5 separate regions of the Homo sapiens genome follow, and regions 1, 2, 4 and 5 are each linked to region 3. Evidence: promoter capture Hi-C in 16 types of primary human blood cells and fetal thymus (Javierre and others, 2016). All regions are on one chromosome and are shown on one strand. The core of a region is centred on a gene start or on the middle of the fragment in contact, and the rest is flanking DNA. Distances in the headings are between cores, read along the strand shown. Region 1 overlaps FHOD3 (formin homology 2 domain containing 3). Region 2 overlaps FHOD3 (formin homology 2 domain containing 3). Region 3 holds the start of FHOD3 (formin homology 2 domain containing 3). Region 4 overlaps RPRD1A (regulation of nuclear pre-mRNA domain containing 1A). Region 5 overlaps RPRD1A (regulation of nuclear pre-mRNA domain containing 1A).

Region 1 (2,700 bases), core at 31-2,530, 280 kb before region 3:
GACCAGCACAGTGCAGAACACAGGAGCCAGAGACTATTCTAGACCTGCCTTTGGGAAAATAAAAGATGAAGACAGAAATCCACACAGATCCAGTGCTGACGGCCCAAATGGCTAGGGAGGAGGCGAGTGTGCCACCTTAGACAGAGGCCCTGAAGAGGCAGCCCAGAGTCCTGAACCACCACTGAGGAAGCACACACCGAGTGCACCGTGTAGGATGGGGAGGCTGGGAAAGCACAATTCCTACAAATGTATTTTTGAAACTTTTTAATTTTATAATTTTTCCATGTTATTTAGAAATGCAATAAAGATTTTCCTGTGTGTTTATTCTTTCCTGATTGTTTATTTTCCTTACAGAATGATTCCAAAGTAATATCAATATGATGCTGTTGCCACATCAGAGACTCTGAGCCATGGCATGCATTTCTGTTATTTCTGTTTTTTTTTTTCTCTGCTGCTCTTCTTCTTTTCCTCCTCCGTGGTCCTTCTCCTCCCTCTTTTCTATCTCTCCCTCTTCTTTTCTTTGTGCCTTTCCTCTCTTAGTCTATTTTTGCTGCTATAAAGAGAAATACCTGAGACTGGGTAATTTATGAAGAACAGAAATTTATTTCTCACAGTTCTGGAGGCTGGGAAGTCCCAGATCAAGGCACTGACTGTGAGGGCCCAGTCTCTCTGCATCCAAGATGGTGCCTGTTGCTGTATCTTCTGGAGGGCAGGAAGGTTGTGCCCTCACATGGCAGAGAATCAAAAGAGAGCAAATGCACTCCTTCCACAAATCCTTCTTATAATGGCATTAATCCATTCATGACAGCAGAGCTTTCATGACCTAAACACCTCTTGACACTGTTGCATTGGGGATCACGTTTACACCACAAAAATTTAGGGAGGCACATTCAGACCACAGCATTCTCTATGTAATCTCTCCCTGCTCACAGTGATTCTTCCCCATACCCATCCCACCTTCCCTAACCTTGCCCTCACTCTATTCTCTGTCTGGTGATGAGCTAACAGACTGTCAGTTTTTCTATTGTAAGCATGTTAGGTTTTATTTCCTTTTAGAAATAGGGCAAGTTGTTGGTGTTTTATCATGGCCATCATAAAACCATAAAGATATCTTAATTCAGCTGTGTCATGTACAAAAAGTCAATCTTTCTTGCAAAATCTCTTCCCATCTCCCTAGCTTTTATGTCCTTGAGACCATTCAGAGTGCCTTGGGGAGGGAGCAGGTTCCAAATGAACATGAAAGTTAGGGAGGCTTCCCAGCACAAGCAAGGAAAAAGGAGAAAAAACTGAAACAGGATATGAGATATAAATCTTCCCTCGGTCTGGCTGATGCAACCTAGAAAGCCCAGCATTTCACTCAGTGTCCAAGGTCACCTACATCAGTTTCAAAACAGAGTCACTTCCATTTTCCATAGAAAACAAAGCCAAACATTTTTTTTTAAAGATTTTCAATCTTCTGAGGGAAAGCATAGCTGTTTCTAATCTGAAATGGGGAAAAATTCTCTCATCAATAAGTACTAGAAAAAGAAAACCTGAGGGCAAGATGTGAGGGTCACCCACGGATATGGGACCCCATGGGGATTCGCATGCCAGTGCCAGCCACAGAGAAAAAGCCCTTCCAACCACACAAGGACACAATCACCAGGATTCTGAGAAGCCTGAGAAGGAGATACAGCCTAAAACTAGAACCATACTCCTCCCCAAATCAAACCAGGGCTGAGTGCTCCCAAAGGACAGCAGAATCCTTGGGAGGCAGGTGACTCCAGGGGTAGGGCCAGGGGATGGACTCCCCAGCAGAGCACAGCACTGTGAACAGCAGCCTGGAAAGGCTCACTCTAGTGGGGGTGGGCAGTGAACACAGGGATGGGGGACAGTCTGGGCAGACCACATGTGATATGGTTTGGTTCTCTGTCCCCACCCAAATCTCACCTTGAATTGTAATAATTCCCACATGTCATGGGAGGGACCCAGTGGGAGGTAAGTGAATCATGAGGGTGGGTTTTTCCCATGCTTTTCTCATGATAGTGAATAAGTCTTCTGAGATCTGATGGTTTTATAAAGGGTGGCTCCCCTGCACACACTCTCTTGCCTGCCACCATGTAAGATGTGCCTTTGCTCCTCCTCCGCCTTCCGCCATGATTTTGAGGCCTCCCCAGCCATGTGGAACTGTGAGTCCATTAAACCTCTTTCCTTTATAAATTACCCAGTCTCAGGTATGTCTTTATTAGCGGTGTGAGAACAGATTAATCCAATATGCTTTTCAGGGACCCTACAAAGCTATGCTGATTCTGTGACCTGTTTAATTCAGGTTCAAATTCTGTATCCAGGCCCTCAAGATCCCCCACTCCATCTGACCATGTTGCCCACTACAGCCACTCTGATCTCCATAACGTGCCACCCGTACAGCACTTTAACCTTGGTGCATGTGCACCTGCTCAGGACAGGGTCCCTTTCACTACTTCTCCCAAATCCCCCTGCAGTCAGGTCCCTAACACATGCTCCTCCACACCCCGGCAGAAACCAGAGAAGACTATGCCAGAGGCTTGCCCAGCTTTCGGCGCACCTGAAGTGACGGAATAGATCTGCTTCCTTGGCAGGACCTCCAGAGACCTCAGGGACCTGGCAGCCAAGGCGTGGCTGGTGGTGATGTGCCAAAATGCATGGGGAAACCAGCTAGGCTTTCATAATCAAGCACTATTT
Region 2 (2,700 bases), core at 196-2,695, 260 kb before region 3:
GCCTAATAGCCACAGCAGAAAATCATAAACGCAACTAAGGCCTCCTGACTTGGACGTGTGCTCTAACAGTCCTGGGAGGTGGTTCCTTGTGCACAAACAGGTATGAGACTAGCCCAGCCCTATGGAGCTGACCCATGTGACAAGGCTGAGTGTCCCCAGACCTCACCGCCACCCATCCTGTCTCCTGGGCCAACACATTAGATTCCATTTATTTAATAGCTATTCCCCAGCAGCTGTAATTACGTGTTCATTAGAACAGAATTGTTTTGCCATCCTTATAGTAATTACTGGCTGTCAATCAATGACTAGTATTTTGCTTTCATTTCTGTAATTATATAAGCATTTCTCATGTTATCAGCTACTGAAATGGAATAAATACTTCAGACCATAAATTCTTAATAGGAGCTAGAAACATGAAATTTGATTCTTGGGAACAAAAACATCTTAGATATCACAAATGTGTACAGCCCTCCACAGGGGAAGAATACATAAACAGAATGTCTGCGGAATTTAAATTTCATGAGGGTTGGGGTATGGGGGTGATTCAGAAAAAAATATATGAAAAGGCACCTTAGGGGGATGATTCTGAACAGAAGGTTGACAAACACTGCTTTATACACTATAATTAAATATTTCCTTAAACAAAGAAACAAAAAAAAAAAACAGAAAAAAAAAAAAACAGCTGCTCTTTACACACACACACAAAGCTATAGAAGAAAGTTTTAATGAAAAACTACTGCAAGGCTGTGCTGCAGCCTCTCTCCAGTCTTTCAACCCAAACTGTGGCGATCTATGAGAGGTGTTACCCTCCTTTTGGCCCAAACTCTCTTAGCTTTTCTAAAGACTGACATACACACCCACTCATGCAAACAGTTGCAGCATTTGTTAAGCACCAGGCACTCTGCTAGGCCCATCTGGCAGGAATCCCCTTGGCCAAATGGACAGAGCACTGCAATGGTCAGGAATGGAGAATGATCAGACCCGTTACTCCACAAGAGCTTTGAAGGGAAGACATGGGAGGTAGGCCAGGCAAGTAGTGGCAAGTGCAGGCTCTAAAGCCAAAGAAACTTGTGTTTGAGGCCATCCCTACTGCCTCTTGCCAAACAAGCAATGTTGTACAAGTGATTTGACCTCTGGTACTTAAATTTCACCAGTGGAAACTGTTTATCAACATCCTCAACAGTCCTCATTCCAAGGTCTCGCAACTATGTTTTGGGGAAGCTCTGGCTTTAGTATAAGCTTGCTTGAGAATGGGCTCCAGCAGGTTAGATGCAAGGCCCAGACTAACTACCCTCAGACAGAAAGGAGCAGCAGTGAACAGCTTTCTAAGTCAAAGGACGAACTTAGGCAAGGTGTAACCCTGTTTTTTATGCTAATTCATCTACCCAACAAGGGGTACACACTCATTCACTCACTCTGGGTGCCCAAGGACGGTTCCTGAAAATTTGGACAAGCAAGCATGTAAAAAAGTCTGCTGCATGTGGAGTTTGATTTCAGGGATCCTAGAAAGAATTCACTTTCCAAAAGTATGCCTCTCTCAGCTTGCTGCAACTGTCTTTCCCAATGGATACCTGCCACAGAGAAAGGTAAGGGTCAAGAGTGGCAGTTAACATAATTCATGCTGTGGGACCGGGGGGCTAACAAAGCTTATGTTTCAGAGTCCCTCATTCAAACAGGCCCCTTCCCAGACCTTGGGAGGGGCCCTAGCAATGTGTTCTCATGGCCCTGTATTTTTATACAACTTGCACAGGGAAGTTATTTTAACAGCAATCACTTAAGGCCACGGGCTCTATCTAAGCTGATTTCATCACTCTCTCTCAGGTCAGGATATGATAATGATGAAAACCAAAATAGACATATCCTCAGGGAGGCACAAACCTTACACAAGGAGGGAAAAACAATCACTGTGCAGCTGTTTAAATGGCTTGTGTGTCCTGCCCAAGCAAGATGCTAAAATGTAGTGCAGAGGGGTATGGAAGAAGTAGTATTGGTGGGGGCTGTAGGTGAATGGTAGGTAATTAGTAAACAATAATCACATGCAAATGAAGCCTATTATTCAGAAAGGAGGAAAGGGCAAAGTCAGCTCGTCCTATTTTAACAGCTTCCTTCTGAGTGGAGGAGGACTGATGTCACCGGTCCCGCTGCTCAGTTCATCTTTAACTCATTCTTCTTTCTGCTGAGCCAAGAGAAGCAGCCGCAGAGAGGACTCTGGGAGGACAAACAACACTACTGAGTAGTCAGTTGTGGGTCGTCTTTCAATAGCAAGGTGATCAAACGCTGGACAGTTTTGAAATCTTTTGGGCTTTTCAACATCATCCCGCCCTGAAAACCTGAATAAGCCCCCAAAGAATCCAACTCAAGGATACTGTCAAAGACCAGGAGTAAGTGATGGTTGACAGTGGTCTAAGGAGAACGTCAGGAGAGAGAAGATACTACAATAGGTGAAGATGACCGAGTTGGTTGTAGCCAGGTGATTCTTCCTGTCCTGTGAAAACACTGGTGACAATAGAATAGCTTGTCAGAGGAGGCAGGGCTGAGGGCTGAGCACTGAGCAGAGCACAGGGGTCTGAATGTGGGTATGAGTGCAGGCGGGAAGCACTGCAACTCAGCAGTGACACCACTGACATGAAGGCAGCCCGTTCTCTTTGAGTTTTTAGTTCATAAGAATGTGTATACTTTTATAAAGTTCCAATGATGACA
Region 3 (2,700 bases), core at 189-2,688:
TACCACTGCTAAAGTCCACCAGTTTCCTCACACAACCAACCTCCTCCTCTACTTGCAAAGCAGGTCAACATCATACAGAAATCCGAGGTTTTTTTTTAAATCAATTTTGTTCTTTTGGGCATCAACGCTTATCTCTTCCAAATATGTGTTAATGTCGACCCTCAAGAAATAAATCATCTCCAAGCTTTGATATGAATCCTAGGCAGAAAAAATACTGGGAAGGTAATTTTGCAAGCTGCATTCAATCTGTCTAAGTGAGAGTAAGGGTTTTCCTAGGTAACGAAATGATTAGCTTTCAATACCCACCTCTTTGCAACAAATGCTTTGCAAGAGGCCTATCCTCCTGCAAAAGGTTTTATTTAAATAAAAATAACAAATAAAAAAAAAAAAACCTCTCTAACGGGTAGACTGAGCAGCCATTCTTCCCAGGGGACACTCATTTCGGGCTGCCAAGCTGAGGCTTTGTGAGCGCGCCGCCCCTCCGCGCCCCCGCCCCTCCTCCCACAGCGACTGCTCCTCCGAGGTTCCCAAGGCCACCTGCTTCTCAGAAGAAAAGGGGGATACCCTGAGCGCTATCGCAGTGTGCGGCCGGCGTCCCCGGCGGCGCCCCCGGGGGAAGGAGGAGGCGGTGTCGCCGGGAAGCGTGCTTTGTCGCGAGGGTCGCGTGGCCGCCCGCAGCGGCCCCAGAGGCCTGAGGGAGGTTTTGTCCCGGCCGTCGCTCAGAGCTCTCCTCTCCAAGGGACCTGAGTCTCGCGGCGCTCCGCTTCTTCCCGCGCCCCGCTTGGTGCCCGCCCGAGTGCCGAGGCCGACTGCCCGCGTCCTAGCCCCACCCCGCCCACCCGGCCGAGCTAACGGCGCGGCTCGGGGGAGCCTTCTCCATCCCGCCTCGGACCGGCTCGGCACCTGCTCTGCCACGCCCGCCCCCGGCTCTAGCTGTTCCTTCCCGCCCGCCCCGGAGGGTCCTGCGCCAACCAGCGGGTGCCTCGAGCCCTTCTGTCTAACGGGGAGGGGGATTTGCCCTCGAGCGATGGTCCCCCCGGGCCGCGCCCAGCCCAGCCCAGGGGGCCCACGAAGCCCCGGGACCCACCCCGGCGCGCACCGCGGCAGGGGGCTGAGTCCAGGGGGCCCAGCCCACCCCGCCGGGTCGTACCTTGTGCGGCGCCTGCAGCAGCCTATGGACCCCCGCCAGCTGGGTGCCGAGCGCGAGGTCCTCGCGGAACGTGAACAGCGGCGGCCGGCTGGGCTCGGGGAAGTTGGTGCTGTTGAAAGGGTCCGTGTCGTCCAAGAACTGCACCCGGCAAGCCAGCGTGGCCATGATGCATCCCTGCCGCGGGGGCGCGGGCCCCGGGGTTAGCGGGGCCGCGGGCCGGGACGCCCGGGTAGCTGCGCGCAGGGGAGGCCGCAGCCGCAGCTCGCTGGCTCGCGGACTCGCAGGCTCAGGCGCGCCGGGCTGCAGCCCGGGCTCCGGCCGCGGGGGGCGGGGCGGGGGCGGGGCCGGCGGGCCCCCTCCTTCCCCTCTCCCTCCGGCTCCTCCCCTCCTCCGGGTCCTCTACCCCCGGCCGGGCTGCCCCGAACGACCGGACCGCAGCCGGGAAAGTGCAAAGGAGACGGCTCGCGCGGCATCCGCAGCCCTGCGCCAAAGGCCGGCGGCGGAGGCGGGGCGGGGAGGCCGGGCGGCCGGACTCTGCTGCACGTGCGCCCCGCGGCCCAGGGCCGAGCTGCACCCCTCGGAGCCTGGAGGACCGAGTTGGGGAGTTGGGGGGTTGGGGGACGGGGAGACAGGCGGCCTTCTGACTTCTTCCCCACCCGGAGAAGGCTTAAGCCTTTCCAGATGAAGGCGGCGGCGGCCGGCTTCTGCTGCCCAGATTTGGAATACCCCGGCAGGGCACCAGGTGGCCAGGGAGCCGGCTTCGGCAGCAAGAGGGGTGGTGGCAGTGACCGGGAGCCCCACCTAAGGGTACGGGGAGGTTTCCCTTAGGGACAAAGAAGCTAAGAAAGAGGAGGGTGCGCCAGGGAACCCAGGCCGCTTTTAGGGCACAAGCCTAGAGTCGAGAGGCGTGGGGGCTGCGAGGCTTCGCTGCGGGACTCCAGCGCCGGGCCTGGACCCCGGGGCTCCCGGCGGATGCTGGTTAAACCTCTGCATCACCACGGCCTCTCCCCAGTTAGGCCGCCGAAAGCCCTAATTGGACCTTGTGGGGCCGCGGGGGCTTGGGGAGGTGGGAGCCCTTCTGGCAAGGTTCCCGAATTGCAGAGAGCCGGGGATGCCCTGGTAACCGAGGGACTGGGAAGGAAGGTTTGCGTCCTGCCCGCCCCTGCCAGGCGGGAGCGGCAAGACTCGGCGCTGCCTCCCACCGCTCTCCTCGCTGCTCACGGGCGACCCCCTTCGTTTTCAAGAAAAATTCACGGTTCTCCCTATTCCCAGGCCACAGCCAAGTTCCTGGTTCCTCCCCCCTTATATAGATCGCCCTCATAACACCCAGTCTCTCTTAACATCCGAGTGTTTTCAAGGCGACTCTATAACGCGTCTATCTCCCTTTCCTCTGGTTTCAAGGGAAAAGAAACCCTTATCCCTATTTAGCAGCCTCACCCACATCTTTAACCTCTCCCTCTCCGTGATCTCCCTCCCTGCCACACATACACACTTATGCCTGATCTTAAAATAATAATTCCACGACACTTCCGCTCCTTCCAGACGAACTT
Region 4 (2,700 bases), core at 34-2,533, 300 kb after region 3:
CATTGGGTTCCTTGCAGAAAACTTGATAAAATATCTTTTTCCACATGTTGTTAACAATCTGGAAGATTAATGAAACTCTGCAATAGTGGATTTCTTAAGAGAAGGAACTAAAGGAAGTGAGACAGTTCGTTAGATGATACTTACTTACATTAAAGTAATTCCCACCAAAAGGTAAAACTTCTGCAGTCAAGGGGGAAAAAATGACAGCTCCATCTGAGATGTATAGGATAACCTGTGAAAAGAAATGAGAAAGGATTGGCTATATTGGAGTTTATATTTTTAAAATTGTCAATTCCAGGATTAGATACCAAGCCAAATTTGAGCATTTGTTTCCCAGAAGGTGAGGGCAAACCACTGAGATCTTTATTTCCTTTGCAGTCTGTCCCCTGGGGATGGTAACAGACTTGACTAATCTGCAGTCTCAGAAACGCCCTGACATCATGGAATGTCTTGGCCTTATTAAAAAAAGAAAATGGGTGTGTGTGTGTTATATCTTGATTAATACTTCAGTTAATTTTTTCCTCTAATCTAGAAAAGGGCCCAATTCCAGGACATGAAAAATGAAGTAAAAGTAAATGGTGATGGATCCTAATAATGAGAACTGAAGCTTCTTAATAGTTCTATTGAAGGCAGTGGCTTAAGAAATACTTGTATGTTAACTTCTTAAAAGAGGCAAAGGACATTATACTACAGATAAATGAGGTCACCAGAGAAAACAAACTTTGCACCTTTTTTCTCTACAAATTCTGCTGTTTTTATCAAGAAATGGGTAGGAAGCCATAGGTCTGCAATACAGTAAGTATGATGCTTAGAATTGACCAAAGCCTTTAATTGACCACTAAAGATCCCCATATGGATGTGGTTGAAATTCTCTCTTTTTTTTTTGTCACAATTATGTAGGAAAGATAAAATGAATTATTAGCAGCATCTGCAAGAAAAAGGCAGCCATGTAAATATTTTAATTTCAGAAATATTATGTATTTAAAGCAACTAGAATTTTAGAACATAACAGGGTCAGCCCTAAAATGAACAAGAATTCCAAATTTCAGGAAATTTATTCTCTTAGATGTTCTTACTGCAAGGTGATTCTGATATCATCTCAGAATGATAACCACAATTATATAGCACTTCCTAATTTGAAAACTTCCACATAATTTGGCCACACAGCACTGTAAAATAGTACCCTTATTTTATGAAGGAGGCATCTGAGACTTAATTAGATAACCTTCAGGAGCCCTTGTCCAGGTTTACATAGGAAGTAGATTGAGGAAACAGTACTCCATCCAGATCTGACTTCATGGAGTGTTGACTGGGGCGTACTGTTAATACTCAGTCCCCTGCTGGACACTGCAAGTAATGTAGATATATAGAAAGTGTGTTTTCTAATTATGGGTATGAAATTAGAAAACAATCCAGTAGTAATTCAGAAATAACTTGTATAGTAGTATATCATAGGAAGTTAGCTTGAGGCCAGAGTCAGAAAAGATTCTATTGCAGTGTTTGGTCTTAATGTAGGACTTGAAAAATATATAAAATTTGGATCCTCAATATATACTTAGTATTAGCTGTAAAGAAATCTGTAATGGTGGTTCAGATTTCAAGAAGCTGTAGCCCACTTGCAGTGCACACAAGGCAAGTCACACCTCCTAGTTCACTAGTGTTGAAGTATTATAGCAGTGTAAAGAAGGCTTCTGCCCTTGGAAAGACAAGACAGACTTAACATGGATTACAACCAAACAGCGCAGAGATAGTTTCAGCTAGGAGCCTAGAGTAAGGATGCTAAGAACAGGGGAAGAGTTTTAGGCAAAGTGAAAATTTGCCTGGATTATGACAGATGGGCAAAATTTTGGAAGACTGGAGGGGCTTGGATATGATCAGTGGAATTGAGCCTTGGTATGAAGCTGGAACTGCAGAAACTGACATGAGGGTTGCTCATGACTGAGGTGATAACAAGCTTTAGGGTGGTAGTGGTGATACTTGTGGCAAGTAAAGGGTAAATTAAGGACAGAAAGGTGGGCCTTGTTGAATGAGGAAAACGGAGGAGAAGAAGTAAAGTGGCTTCGGTCAACAGAGTAAGAAGAATGAGGTAAAGCATTGGTTCCCAAATGCACCCATGCCATGGTGCCACCTGAGAACATTTATTTTAATAGTTACATTTTTTTTTTTAGTTTTTGAGACAGTTTCATTCTTGTTGCCCATGCTTGAGTGCAACGGTGCAATCTCAGCTCACTGTAACCTCTGTCCCAGGTTCAAGTTGTTCTCCTGCCTCAGCCTCCCAAGTAGCTGGGATTACAGGTGCCGCCACCACACCCAGCTAATTTTTGTATTTTTAGTAGAAACAGGGTTTCACCATGTTGGCCAGGCTGGTCTTGAACTCGTGACCTCAGGTGATCCGCCCGCCTTGGCCTCCCGAAGTGCTGGGATTACAGGCGTGAGCCACTGCGCCCAGCCCTAGTTACGTTTATTTTGATGTGTGAATCAAAACGAAAATGAGCACAACCAACCTGTGATTGCATGGATATTATTTCTTAGAATGAAGATGTTAAAAAATGAGTTGATTTAAATATTATGTAAATAACAGTGTAAGGGAGTCATGGTAAAGAACGTTATGAAGGATGGTAGTTAACTAATTGAAGTTTGGAAAATAGTGATTAAAAATTGGGAGAGGTGGTATGAGGAAAATTTCTGGGGTTCTGAAAA
Region 5 (2,700 bases), core at 139-2,638, 270 kb after region 3:
TAAATGTACCATATGTCCTTTTGCTAAAATTTGCCTTAAACTATTAAAATAAAAAGTAGGGAATATAGTTTTTTGATGCTTTTATTTGAAAAGACTTCCCTCTACATGGCATTTATAAATGTATTAAATGCCTTCTCTGAAGGAAAAATATTTTTTGAACTGTTGCTAAGGTGGGCCTTTGGAGTACTTGAATTACAGCTTTCCTTTAAGAGACCAGAACCAACTGCTATATTGGAATGAACTTCATTAAAAATGAATGAAGGTATTGAAGTAAAAATTTGTGTGTTTATAAAGCTATCAGTCTTGTAACAAATATTTCCATATACACTTAGTACTGTTTCTATTCTTTTTTTTTTTTTTTTTTTTTTTTTTGAGACAGAGTCTCACTCTCACCCAGGCTGGAGTACAGTGGTGCGATCTTGGCTCACTGCAACCTCTGCCGCTTGGGTTCAAGCGATTCTCCTACTTCAGCCTCGCAAGTAGCTGGAATTACAGGTGCCTGCCACCATGCCTGGCTAATTTTTGTGTTTTTAGTAGAGACAAGGTTTCACCATCTTGGCCAGGCTGGTCTTGAACTCCTGACCTCGTGATCCACCTGCCTCGGCCTCCCAAAGTGCTGGGATTACAAACGTGAGCCACCATGTCTGGCCTGTTTCCATTCTTTACTTGCCCTCTGGGTAATTTTGTACATCGCATGTATTTGGTTATTCTCCACACCGTAATGACTTACAGTTTTATGCTCCAGTCCAGATTTTTTTTTGTTCCAAACCTGTGTGCCCAATTGCCTTTTGACATTTTTACTTGTATGCGTCTCAAACATTTCAGACTCACTGTGTCTGATACAGAACTCATTATGTCCTTGCTTCCCACCGTACTTGTCCCTCCTGTAGGTTTTATACTCTGTGAATGGCAACTCGATCTATCCAGGTGCCTATGCAAGAAATTATGTTACCTTTAAACTCTTCTTTCTCCTTCAGTCCCCATATCTCACATAGTACACATTGACTCGGTTCTTTGGATTTCTTTCCCTTTTAGTTACCATAATGTATTTTCAGTATAATTTTAATGCCCTTTAGTATTGTTTAATTTCTTTAGAAAACTCGACAGAGTTGCAGAGCTGGTCATAATACTTCCTTGCCTTTGAGTGGTTCCCATTTGTTTTAGAGATGAAGTCTAAAGTCCTGAGCAAGACTTAAGGTGTTCCTTCGTGGCACTGCCTATCTCCCCAGACCTCTGTCTCGCATTTATTCCACACAGTCTATAGTCTACAGTTTAAGCTAAATTAACCTTTTTTAGTTCTTTCCGCCTTAAGTCTTCTATATATGTTGCCCCTCCCTAGAATTCAGTAAAATATTTATTGGCTGCATAAATATTTATTATATGCAAAACCCTGAGTAGTAGTGACCAAGACAGTTTTGTTCTACTGGAGCCTACATTTCATTGGATGACAAAGTTAATAAGTAGATAGACAAGTGAATGCATAATGTCAGATGACAAATGCTAGCAAGAAATACAAAGCAGGGAAGGAACTAGATAGTATGAGGGCGCTCAGTTATGTGATGAGATAAAGAACAACTATTTGGGGAAGGTGGCATTTGAACAAAGACTAAAGGAAGGGGTGAAATGAGCCATTTGACTAGGCAGAAAGGATTCTAGGTAGAGAGAATATGTGGCCGAAAAAATGAGATAGCTTATATGCTGGACATGTTTGAGGACCTTAGCAAGGAGATTTGTATGGTACTAGGTATTAGGGAGTGTGTACTGAGGGACTGCCAGAAAGCAGAGCATGTGGGCCTTATGGCCCAGAGTAAGGATTTTGGTTTTATTCTTGATGTGATTGGTAGCTCTTGGAGGATCAAGAGCTGTATAATCTGATTTACATTATTAGGATGCTTTGTACAGAATAGAGTAAAAGAGTAGAGGCTGGGAGAGCGTGAGAAGACTTTACAAAATTCTAAGCAAGAGATAGTAGTGTTTCTGTCTACAGTGATAGCAATGAAGGAGGTAGGAAACAGTTGGGAGTAGTCTGTTTTTCATTTCCCCATATGTCTAGTCTTAAGATCTCAAATTAAATATCATTTCCTTAAATACTCTTCCGGATATCTCTTAAACAGGGCCAGGTCTGTCTTAAGCACTTTGTTCTCTTTTGTGATACTTATAAATAACAACTGCCATAAGCTGCATTTGCATCTCCATGTCAAAGATAGTAACTGGATCAATAAGTATTTGTTGAATAAATTTAAAAAAATAACCTATGAGAAATCTTCCTTAGCCCCATGTCCAGGCCCCATTAGGATAGGAAATCCCTAGCAGCCAGTACTAAAACTTTTACAGTTTAAACTTTTTTTGGTTGTGTAATAATATGTTTATAAAATGTTTACTAGAAGCAAGCAGTGTGTCTAGATCACTTCACTTTTGAGCTGCTGGCCACATAGTGATGCTAAGTAGACATTTGGACAGTTTTTTCCAGGGAATGAATGTCTGATTATATTTAAAGTTACCGTTAACCTTTTCAATAACACTATGCATTGTTACTGTTAACATTTTTCTTTTTTTCTTTTTTTTTTTTTTTAGTGAAACTGATGAAAGTTGTAAGAAGCACCTTGGAAGAGTGTTATCTATTTGGGAAGAAAGGTCTGTTTATGAAAATGATGTATTAGAACAACTTAAACAAGCTCTGTGTAAGTGTAGAATCCTGAT

Evidence for each region. Contacts are between HindIII fragments. The CHiCAGO score rates a contact against its expected background, and 5 or more counts as called.
Region 1: a fragment that was not itself captured here is called in contact with the fragment with the promoter of FHOD3 in region 3 in 1 of 17 cell types (megakaryocytes); the score reaches 6.1 in megakaryocytes.
Region 2: a contact is called between a fragment that was not itself captured here and the fragment with the promoter of FHOD3 in region 3, in 1 of 17 cell types (megakaryocytes). The highest score is 5.6, in megakaryocytes.
Region 4: a fragment that was not itself captured here is called in contact with the fragment with the promoter of FHOD3 in region 3 in 4 of 17 cell types (total CD8 T cells, activated CD4 T cells, monocytes and 1 more); the score reaches 7.0 in total CD8 T cells.
Region 5: a contact is called between a fragment that was not itself captured here and the fragment with the promoter of FHOD3 in region 3, in 5 of 17 cell types (naive CD8 T cells, total CD8 T cells, endothelial precursors and 2 more). The highest score is 5.9, in naive CD8 T cells.

The regions. Positions count from the first base shown.
Region 1 is chr18:36,577,690-36,580,389 of GRCh38, reverse strand. The region is part of intron 6 of FHOD3 (formin homology 2 domain containing 3); the gene reads right to left. Among named protein-coding and RNA genes, the nearest start is that of TPGS2, 250 kb to the left of the region's middle. The HindIII fragment of the contact is 4,705 bases long and covers 1-2,700 here.
Region 2 is chr18:36,558,806-36,561,505 of GRCh38, reverse strand. The region is part of intron 5 of FHOD3 (formin homology 2 domain containing 3); the gene reads right to left. Among named protein-coding and RNA genes, the nearest start is that of FHOD3, 260 kb to the right of the region's middle. The HindIII fragment of the contact is 407 bases long and covers 1,242-1,648 here.
Region 3 is chr18:36,296,451-36,299,150 of GRCh38, reverse strand. It overlaps FHOD3 (formin homology 2 domain containing 3), which reads right to left and starts at 1,438. Exons shown (of 29, transcript NM_001281740.3): 1 at 1,151-1,438. The coding sequence starts at 1,315. RefSeq lists silencers at 1,196-1,265, 1,386-1,675 and an enhancer at 1,615-2,592. The HindIII fragment of the contact is 3,286 bases long and covers 187-2,700 here.
Region 4 is chr18:35,997,828-36,000,527 of GRCh38, reverse strand. All of the region lies in intron 6 of RPRD1A (regulation of nuclear pre-mRNA domain containing 1A), which reads left to right. Among named protein-coding and RNA genes, the nearest start is that of RMP24, 26 kb to the right of the region's middle. The HindIII fragment of the contact is 1,347 bases long and covers 610-1,956 here.
Region 5 is chr18:36,030,972-36,033,671 of GRCh38, reverse strand. It overlaps RPRD1A (regulation of nuclear pre-mRNA domain containing 1A), which reads left to right. Exons shown (of 7, transcript NM_018170.5): 3 at 2,575-2,681. Among named protein-coding and RNA genes, the nearest start is that of RPRD1A, 35 kb to the left of the region's middle. The HindIII fragment of the contact is 3,070 bases long and covers 1-2,700 here.